Linked DNA regions of Homo sapiens: region 1 is linked to region 2. Evidence: promoter capture Hi-C in human tissues and cell types (Jung and others, 2019). All regions are on one chromosome and are shown on one strand. Each heading gives the region's core, a stretch centred on a gene start or on the middle of the fragment in contact. The rest is flanking DNA. Distances are from core to core; before and after follow the strand shown. Region 1 overlaps ISM1 (isthmin 1). Region 2 holds the start of TASP1 (taspase 1).

Region 1 (5,378 bases), core at 1,703-4,202, 360 kb after region 2:
TTTTGGTATTCCATTTGTATTCAGACTGGAGTCAAAGGGATTGCTTAAACAAAACGTGCCCTGCAATTTCTCCAAGCTGGGAATAAAAACAATTTCATGTTTCAAGCTATTACCGTCAATATGATTTTTTTTTTCTCCAAACTGCTGCTCAGATCCAAACAAAATAGACTTGTTGCCTGGCCAGGCAATGAGTAGCAAAATACAAATTTACTCCAAAAGCTATATCGATGACTAAATCTCAACACTTAGAGGTTTATTTTTCCCCTTAATTGCTAGCCACTGCCTCAACTGAACTAAAACAAAAACAAAACACAAAACAACAAATCTTAGGATCCACCGCACCCTTCCCTACAGTTAACAAAGTGAAAACCTCATGCTGATATCAAAAGAAGAAATCTAATCTTGAGCCTGAGGTTTCATAGGCATCCAATTAAAAAGACTTAATGAGTGTGATCAATGACTTCTCCAATGGCGAGGGCTCGTTTTATGTTTCCTATTGCTCTCATTCTATTTACATGCTTTTTAGCATCAAAGAATCCGTTGATAAAGATGTCTTGAACAATGATCAATGTGATGAACTGTAGGTGTGGAGTGAGCACAGATTTCCAAACTGACAAAGTCTCTAGATCTTACCGTCCTTTCTCATCCTTAACACACATAATTGAAGTGTCTTAGTATATTTTTTTCTTCTGGACTTTTTCACACTCAAGTCATGATGATAAAAGAAAGGGAACTCTTTCAAAAGCCTCAAGTTCAATTTCTGGCACAATCTCCCCAGCTCCAAGAAAGAGAGTCCAAAAGAAGTGCCCATTTCGATAATTCTGTCTTAGGAAACGAGGAAAAGTTCCAATGCACCTTGATCAGCTTTCCTTCTCTTGAAAATTAATACATTGACTAGAAGCAAACTCTTGATTCTTGCTCGGAAATGCACTTCCCATAGGGAAACCCACACCATTCTCAGTCTAGGTGATAATAAACCAACGCCACTGAGAATACAGAGGCCATGCTCTTCAAACTCAGGAAAGCCTTCTTGCTTGTTGGTCCTCTAAGCCTTGTGAGCTGTGGAAACTGGTGGGAGTGGGCAGGTATTTTCCAGAGAGGAAAAGGATTTCCTCAGGAGCACAGAGCATTGAAGGACCTGTCTCCAACAAGGGTTTTAAATCCAGATTATTCTACCCCTTCTTCCTCGATAACTGCCATGGAAAGAACACAAAATGGACTAGGAAGATATCTAATTCCCTCTTCTCACACCTGCTGATGCTCTAAGAACAAGGGTGGCAACCCCAGCTAACTGTAGTTACTGCTTTGAGACTTGCAGCACGCCAATCTAGGCATTACTGTCCCTTCTACACAACTTAGACTCAATTTTCAGGGACGGAAACTGGCTTGGAGAATTCAAGGTCCCGAGGTAAACAGCAAGGAAGATGTAGTGTTGGTCTCTGAACCAGTTCTTCTGATTCCCAATTAATTTTTTGTACATTTCCTTTGTCATCTTCATCTCCAATATCATCACCAACGAGCATCTATCCGTTCTAGGAAGCTTATCCTATACTGGGCCCTGTGCTAAGCACTTCATATGGATGATCTCATTGAATCCTCACAGATAATCACACTTATATATAGTATTATACTACATAGCTGCTCATATGTAGTATTGTCATTCCAATTTTATAGACAAGGAAACTGAGGCACAAAGACATCCAGTAACCCGCATGGGGCTACGGAGGTCAAGTCTGGCTGACTAAATGGTGGTGCCTGATCCCAAACACAAGCCAATCTGCCTCCATATATTGGCAGCAGTACCCCATGAGAATCTGAGCCGAACAGGCTTGTCTCTATAGGGGCATGGGTCCATGTCTTGGGCAGAGAAATTTCTTGATTCTTATCCAGCCAGACCTGCCATTCCTCTAAAAGTATTTTAGAGAAAAAGGAGGAGGCAAAATCAAAAGTAGAAGCACGTACAACTGTAACCCTGGCCAACTCATCTGATTGTATCTTGTGGCGCTCAAGAGGCCTGTGGCCATGTTAATATGTCTGTGCAAGGAAAAAAAGGCCTTTACATGACTATTTTTAAGTCCGTCTTAATGGGAGAAAAGAAATAAATATATGGGTTGAAATGAATACTAATCTCAACTTGATCCAGAAAAGAGAATATTTTGGTTGTGAATAGCTAGTGTAGTAATGAACCAATGTAGTAAGCCTAACAGTGCATTTATTTCAGAGATTTTTGTCTCTGATATCTGACTATCAGCTGCAGACTGAAAACCCAGCCAAGGATACCAAAGTCTAACTTGTTCTGGGGGATTTACTTTCTTTCCTGAATGATTTTTGTTTTTGATAAAACCCAACCTCTTATATTGTTTTAAATTTCATATGGAGACTCAGTTTAGTAGTCTGAGACCATTTTTGTTCTATTTTGCGCATTTTCTTCCCCTCCTCACTTCCACAGCTTGAAGCCAGTCTTAAAATAGAATTGTCTGATTCACTTGGGACCGAGGCTGCCTGACTTCTGGGAGTTAAAATGCTCTGCAGAAGCAGGTGTTGGGGCTTTTAGAAGGATTTCCTATCCTGAAAGTCAAGAGGCCCGGGGGCCGGGCGCGGGGGGGGCGGGGAGTGGAGAGGGGGCGGGACGTGGACTCTTGCATGGGCTTAGCGATGTCACTTTGGAAAGGTGCAGGCTGTTTCCTTAGCCCTGGAGCGTGGGAAACACTTCCAGAGCCTGAAGGGGTGGGGAGGTGCGGAGGGGAAGGCGGGTATCAAGTTCCCATTCAGCTCCCAGGCTCCAGCTAGGGAGAACCAGATGGGGGCAAAGGCAGGTTGCCAGGGGAAGGGGCAGATGAGGCCAGGAGCCCTGGCAGCGGAAGCTGACCTACTGAAGGGCCCCTCACCTGACTTCACTCTGCTACCCAGGGAGAGGGAATGCTTTGACGGGGCCGGCAGGGACCGTCAGGGACCAGCAGGGCTGTCTGCTGGGCTGAATCGGCCCTGTGTCAAACCAGTGGATTTCAACAAAAGAACAGTGCTCTGAGGAAGGGGTGAGGGCTGCCAACACGGAAACCATCACCTCCTTGTAGAAAGCACCTCATGTTTTAAAGGACCACCAGGGAACTGGTTTACACAAGTGCAGTGGTGCATGGGGCTGCAGCAGCTAGTGCTGTGTGGTGTGTGGGTGTGTTTGTGTGCATGCACATGCACACATACACACACACACACACACAATTACACGCCAACAGAAGGCGGGGGCTCCCAGGGGTAGCAGTTGTTTTATTCTTTCTTTGAACATCTTTCTGAGTGACCAATACTAACATTTTGTGGTCTTCCACAAACAGAAGGCCAGAAACGCACCACAATTTTATTTTCTTCAGGGCCAAAACGTCATCAGATCAATAAAATGCTGGCCACCCTCCACCCCTCTGTATTGCTCACAGAAAATTAACCGATAGGGATTGTATAGAGCAGAAATAGAATAACTTGACTGGGCAGTAGGCAAAAATGTATTGTTGGCTTACTCTTTTTGATTTGTTGACTTTGACAGTAGCTAGGCTGGAGCCGCATTAATTTTTAATCCATTTGGCCAATAACATTCACATCTGGAGCTATGGTAAACCTTTATTCTTGGGAGTTACGGTGATCTTTGCTGTACAAAGGGTAACTGGGGTTCCCAGCTCTGGGAGTCCCAACTGCCTTTCAGCCTTTACGCTATAGCTTTTCCCTAATATTTAAGTAATATTTTTAAAAGACAGGTCAGTTGCAGTGACTCATGTCTATAATCCCCGCATTTTGAGAGGCTGAGGCAGGAAAATTACTTGAGGCCAGGAGTTTGAGACCAGCCTGGGCAACACAGTGAGGCCTGGTCTCTTCAAAAAATAAAAAAGATTAGCTAGGCATGGTGGCTCACACCTGTAGTCCCAGCTACTCAGGAGGCTGAGGTAGGAGGATCACTTGAGCCCAGGAGTTCAAGGCCTCAACAAGCCATGATTGCACAACTGTACCGTAGCATAGGTGACAAAGAAAGACCTTGTCAAAATAAAATAAAATAAAATAAAATAAAATAAAATAAAAAAGACCCAAGTGAGGTCTAGGTAGGGAATGGGAATTTTCAGACAGATGGATTTATCTAGAAGACAGAAAGGGGATCCCAAGAAGTTCTGTCTGAAATTGGGTTCAAGCACAAAGCAGCCAATAACTTTCCAATGAAGGAACAGTCCCCGGCAGCCTTCCGTTCTCCCGCATCCAGGCATTTTCCTATGACTTTGCGTTAGTAATTCTTAAATCAATTACACTGATATTATAGCTCAGTCCTCAGCATTATGCCCCAAGTGACATTCCCACCTCTGGGAAAAAGCGCTAGCCACAGCAGGCTTCAGATTGTTTTGGGCATGGCCTAAACACCCTTGGGATGAGAACTGCCTGATTCTGGAACCAGAACATCTATAAACACATGGATGAGCCATGATAGGAAACAAGGTTGAGCAACGGTATGAAGTCAGTGCCTTCCTTGCCAATCTGCACCTATTCCAAAGGGTTCCATTGCTCTTTATCACACCACGTGGCCAGTCCCTGGAGAGGGGCCATTGGAGCCAAAGGCCTGTTTTTCCAATTTATCAATTAAAACAATACAAGACTCACCAGAAATTTTAACTGGGGCTTGTAGTGATTTCTGTGCATGGGTTGTCAAAGAGTGACCTCCAAAATATTTGTCACTCTGTGCCATCAATAGAGCCTGTCCGACTTCTTTCCACCTATTGAGATCCACCCCCTTGGGACACAGTGCTTTTCCTCCTCTGTCTTCATGATCCCTCCAGCACTGTTTTATGTGGTAGCTGGGATCTTCACACAGATCTAATTTATTGGAGGGAACAGGTCTTACATTTTTCAATTTCCTATAACCTAATGCAGCATTTTATATACAGCGGGGGTTGGTATTCCAAGTGTTCTCAGTGAGATTTGCGTGCTCCCATGATGCTGGTGTTAAGAGCAAAACAACTCAGGTCAACGAAACCTGATCTAAAACCGTATCATGCAGAGGGTGTTAGTCTGTGGAGAGAGAGGCAGTTAATGAAGGATCAATTGGTCTGAGTCCAAGTTCAGGAACTTTCTGCTATGTAAGCAAATTGGCATTTGGTCCAGAGAGGAAAAAGTACAGAAAAGGTGCACCTATACAAATAGAAAGAATTGGAAGCAAAGCTTACAAGTATGGGCTGGCTGTGGTGGCTCATACTTGTAATCCCAGCACTTTGGCAGGCTGAGGCAGGGGGATCGCTTGAGCCCAGGAGTTTGAGCCCAGCCTGAGCGATATGGCAAAACCCTGTTTCTACAAAAAATTAAAAAATGAGCTGGATGTGGGGGCACACACTTGAAGTTCCAGCTACTCGGGA
Region 2 (5,359 bases), core at 1,797-4,296:
GAAGCTGAGAATATGATGGCCATCCCTCCTGAAACTTGACGACGAATCATTGACTCTGTGTTCATCAAAGGAGAGATTATCCTGGGGGACCTGACCTAATCAGTTGAGTCCTTTCAAGGTGGAAAAGTCAGAGAGGACTGCTCCTCCTGACCTTGAAGAAGACAAAAGTGGCCAGCTCTACAGCTGCAAGGATTTGAATTCTGCCAATCACCTGAATGAGCTTGGAGAATCGCTCTGGGCATCCGATGAGATGGCAGCTCTGACTGACACCTTGATTTCAGCCTTCTGAGATCTGAGCAGAGACCTGGACACCTGATCCACAGAAACGGAAATATTACATTTGTGTTGTCTTAAGCAGGTGAATTGGTGTTAACTTGCGGCACAACAATTGAAAACTATCACTATTGTTCTGCTACATTTCTGACACATGTGTTAAAGCAATAGTTTTCCAGGAATACAAAACAAAGGGAGACCCCCAGGGAACCAGGACAGAGGGGGCTTACTTAGAGTACAAAGATCAAGATGCAGCAGACATGATTATTTGAGATAAAGGAAGTAATTCCTCAGCTTGCTGCTTTTCCGGGTTTGGGAGAGGTGGGAACAGGAAGAGGGAGGCAACCAGATTTTTTCTGAAGGAGATTTACTAGTATAGACTTTCCTTTCAAATTTAACATGTTGAGTTAATCAAATAGATATTACAACTGTTCGTTATTAATATTTCAAAGGATCTCATTGTTACTGTACCCAATGCAGGTTAAAAATGTTAAAACTTGGGTCTGGGCTGGGCATGGTGGTTCATGCCTGTAATCCCAGCACTTTGGGAGGCCGAGATGGGTGGATCACCTAAGGTCAGGAGCTCGAGACCAGCCTGGCCAGCATGACAAAACCCCATCTTTACTAAAAAGACAAAAATTAGCCGGGCGTGGTCACGGGCACCTGTAATCCCAGCCACTGGGGAGGCTGAGGCAGGAGAATCACTTGAACCGGGGAGGCAGAGGTTGCAGTGAGCTGAGATCGCACCACTGCATTCTAGCCTGGGCAACAGAGTGAGACTCTGCCTCAATAATAATAATAAAAAAAAGGGTCCGAAGAATTTTGTTACTTTTACTTGAGCAGTATTCACCTACCAGAGGATGGCCTGTGTGGCATCTGGGTGTGATACCCAAGACAAAAGTATACAGAGCAGCACTGGGAGATGATTATTACAATGTAGTTAAATTCCAGGAAGAATGTTGCCTAAGAAATGGAAGGGAGCATGTCTATGTCTTTTTAAAACTTTAACATCTTTCTTTTATTCCTGCTGGTTCCAGTTAATATTGCTGTGTAAAAATCCACTTTAAAGGTGCAAAAGAACAACTATTTTATTATGCTGATGGATTCTGCGGGTGAGGAATTCAGAAAGGTCACAATGGGGATGGTTTATGTCTGCTTCCTAATGCCTGGGCCAAACTTTCTGGCACTATATAACAAGGGCCCCATTTTCTCCAGCTTCCAATAACATCTTCCTTAGCTCCCTTTAAGCCCTCATTGGCAGCTTCCTCAAGTCCTTTTAGACTCTTGTTAATACTTTGGATCCCTTCCTGCTCTTGCTGCTTCACCTAGTTCCAAAGCCAGTGCCACACGTTTTACTTTTATGATGTTATTATGTTATGTTTTGTTATAATATCCATCCTACTTCTAGGTAACAAAATCGGTTTCAGTTACTATTGCTATGTAATAAACTGTTATTCTTACTATGTAATAAACTTCTTCCCCTTGCCCCTCCCTAAGAAGTCAGTGGTAGAAGAGAAAGAAAAAAAGCCCCAAGTTACATAATAAAACCACATAGGTTATATTTATAATAATGGTATCAGTGGTTCTCGAACTTTTTGGTTTCAGCATACCTTTATACTCCCCAAAATAGTAGAGAACACTCCAAAGCTTTTGTTTCTGTGGGTTACATCTATTAATATTTACTATATTAAAAATTGAATACAAAGCTGAAATGTGGCTGGGTGCGGTGGCTCACGCCAGTAATCCCAGAACTTTGGGAGGCCAAGGCAGTAGGATCACCTGAGGTCAGGAGTTCGAGACCAGCATGGCAAACATGGTGAAAACCCGTCTCTACTAAAAATACAAAAAATTAGTCGGGTGTGTATCGAGCGCCTGTAATCCCAGCTACTCAGGAGTCTGAGGCAGGAGAATCGCTTGAGCCCGGGAGGCAGAGGTTGCAGTGAGCCGAGATCGTGCCATTGCACTCCAGCCTGGTTGACAGAGTGAAACTCCATCTCCAAAAAAAAAAGAAAAAAACCAACAAAAAACTGAAATGTTAAAAAGTTATTTAAAATAACAATAATAAACCATTATGTGTTAATATAATTAAGACATTTTAATGAAGAATAAATATTTTCCAAAAACAAAAAAATGTGGTAAGAAAAGTGTTATCTTTTGCATTAGTGTAAATTCCTCTATAGCTGGCTTAAAGAAGCCAGTTAGATTCTCATTTCTGCCTTTACATTCAGTTCGACGTGATGTTTTGGTGGAAGTATAAGGAAAATCCATCAGTCATGGGTCATCAAAACCCATGACTGGGTTTCGGTCTTACATCCTAGCCGATAAAAGACCGCCTACACTCCTTCCCCCTGGGCAAGGCTCGTGCCCCAACTCCTACAAGCAATGCAGGCTGAACCTTAGTTTTCCCTACCGTCTAACAGTGCTCTAAGGATTGAAAGAAAGTAACTCTTAAGCGACACCTAGATAAAATGATGGTCAGTTTAATTTCATTTCTCATCACAGTATTAGTCAATCAACCACTCAGATATAATCACATCCTGCGGGCTTATTCAGGGGCGGGGTGGGTAGAGATAAGCAATAGCGCATGCGCAGCTCAGAACGAAGCCCCAGGTGGAGTTAGCGCTGCACCTCTGAGGCCAGGTGAGCCGCTCCGAAGCGGAGGGCGGAGTCAGAGCCGCTTGTGGGAGGCTGCTTCCGACCACGTGGTACCCCGAATGACCAATGGGGAGACTTGATGTCAGCCCCGCTTCCTCACCCTGGCAACGGGCGGGTGACTACTTCCGGTGCAGTGAAGGCTCGGGGCTGAAGCGGGTGAGTGTCCCTCTTTCCCACGCTGTCCGCGCCGCTGCCGCCTCCGCGCTGCTGCCTCTGTGTGTGGGCCCCGTACGCTAGCTGGGACGTCCTCTCCGGGTCCGAGAGGGGGCGGCGCGCAGGACACCCCTTGCCCCGGGCGGGGCTAGAGGAGGGGGCCAGGATGTCCCTAGTTCCCTAGTCTTGGTCGCTCTAGGCGGCCCCGTCGTCCCCCTTCCCAGCCTCATCTCCGGCTTGGCGTCCTCGTGGCCACCGGGGAAGTACTGTCTGTATGTGGGGAGTTCTCGCAGTTCTTCACCCACTTTGCAGTCTCAGGCTGGAGATGTCTCAGAGTCCGAGGTTCGCAGACAGCCGAGAATGTGCGCCTTGTCCTGGGTGGCGGGTTGGGGGTAAGGCAGCCCCTTACTTAGTAATAGAGGCCTGATGAGAGTCCTGCGGGTCGTTAGCACTTACTACTCAGGGGGAGGAGGAGGAGGAAGAAGAGGAGGAGGAAAGGACCGAGAAGATGGAGCAGCTGGAGAGGAGGGGGGGAAAGCAGGAGCTAGAGATGTCCTGGAAATCGAGGGTATCGTGTTTCCGGAAGGAGAGAGTTCAACTTTCCTGGCTTCTGTAGGGGAGGGGAAGGAAAGGTGTGTTAGGGGCCATTAGATTGCTGAATTATTATTATTCTTTATTAGCGAAGGAATTTTTACTTATATTCTTAGGAGTTTAATAATTTATCTTTTTTGTTGTAAATAAAACTTTTCCCCACCACTTACAAAAAGCAGTGCTTACTAAGGAACATCTGGAAAATGCAGAAATAGTTATGAAGAGATCACCTATAGTTCTGCCAACCCAGCATTTTGATCTTTTTTCTAATATTTTATTCATATTAACCTATTTGTGATCATAATGTATGCGTGTAAAATACGGTTATAACTAAGAGGCATAGTTACATACATTGTGTTCATTGCACGGATAGATTGTCTTTTTTCCTCTTGAGAAAGTCTTATTAAGGTATTCATGCACCATAAAATTTATTCTTTAAAATTGTAAATTTCAGTGCTTTTTCTCATATCGCAAAGTTGTGCACCCATCACCACTATCTACTTTCAGAACATTTTCATCACCCCCAAAAGAAATCCTATACTCATGACAGTCACTCCCCATTAGATTCTCTGCTTTCTCTCCCAGGCCTTGTAACCACTAATCTACTTTCTGTATCTATGGATTTTCCTATACTGGCATTTCATATAAATGGAATCATAGAATATATGGCCTCACTTGTCTGGTGTCTTTCAGTTAGTATGTTTTCAAGGTTCATCAATGTCTGTGTATCAGTATTTCATTCTGTTTTATGGATGGGTAATGTTCCATTGTGTGAATATGCCACATTTTGCTTAACCATCATCGGTCGATGGACATTTAGGTTGTTTCTACTTTTTGGCTATTTTGAATAATTCTGCTATAAACATCTGTGTACAAGTTTTTGTATGGACATACGTTTTCAGTTCTCTTGAGTATATACCTAGAAGTGGAATTGGTGGGCATATGGTAACTCTATGTTTAACTTTTTGAGTGAGTGCCAAATGTTTTCCAAACTGGTTGCACCATTTTACATTCCCACCAGCAGGTTATAAGGGTTCTGATTTTTTCATATCCTTGGGAGCACTTATCTTTCTTTTTGGTTATAGCAGTCTTAGTGCTTATAAAGTGGTAGCTCATTGTAGTGTTGATTTGCATTTCCCTGATGGCTAATAATGTTGAGCATCTTTTAATGTGCTTATTGACCCTTTGTATATCTTTGGAGAAATGTCCATTTAATTCCTTTGCCCATTTTTAAATTGAATTGTCTTATATTAAAGTTGTATGAGTTCTTTCTATATTCTAAATGTAAGTCCCTTTCCAGATACATGATTTGCAATATTTTCTTGCGTTTTCTCCCATTTTATGGGTTGTCCTTTTACTTTCTTGAATGGTGTCCTTTATCTACTTAGAATTTTTTTTTCAAAGACTTGTCAAGTGCAATAGGGAGGATATTTAGAGTTAATTTTTCTGTATGATGTGAGGTAGGAGTTCAGTTTCATTCTATTGCATGTGGCTATCCAGTTCTAGCATCATTTGATGAAAGGACTGTCCTTTCCTCCATTGAATGGTAGAAACCATTTCAACACTCTTGTTGAAAATCAGTTGATCATAAAAGTGTAGGTTATTGTTTTCTTAACCGTTTTTCTGTATTGGACATTTAGGTTGCTCCCAGATTTTTGTTATTCTAAATTATCCTGTGTTAAACATG

Evidence for each region. The method cuts DNA at HindIII sites, captures the fragments that hold promoters and counts their contacts. A contact is called where the count stands out against the background at its distance.
Region 1: a contact is called between a fragment that was not itself captured here and the fragment with the promoter of TASP1 in region 2, in 1 of the 25 tissues and cell types used here (mesendoderm cells).

Annotation. Positions count from the first base shown.
Region 1 is chr20:13,271,900-13,277,277 of GRCh38, reverse strand. All of the region lies in intron 2 of ISM1 (isthmin 1), which reads right to left. It also overlaps a transcript of TASP1 not described here. Among named protein-coding and RNA genes, the nearest start is that of ISM1-AS1, 35 kb to the right of the region's middle. The HindIII fragment of the contact is 5,313 bases long and covers 296-5,378 here.
Region 2 is chr20:13,636,619-13,641,977 of GRCh38, reverse strand. TASP1 (taspase 1) reads left to right here and starts at 3,046. Exons shown (of 14, transcript NM_017714.3): 1 at 3,046-3,084. RefSeq lists a silencer at 3,146-3,295 and enhancers at 3,486-3,575, 3,189-3,689. The HindIII fragment of the contact is 12,335 bases long and covers 548-5,359 here.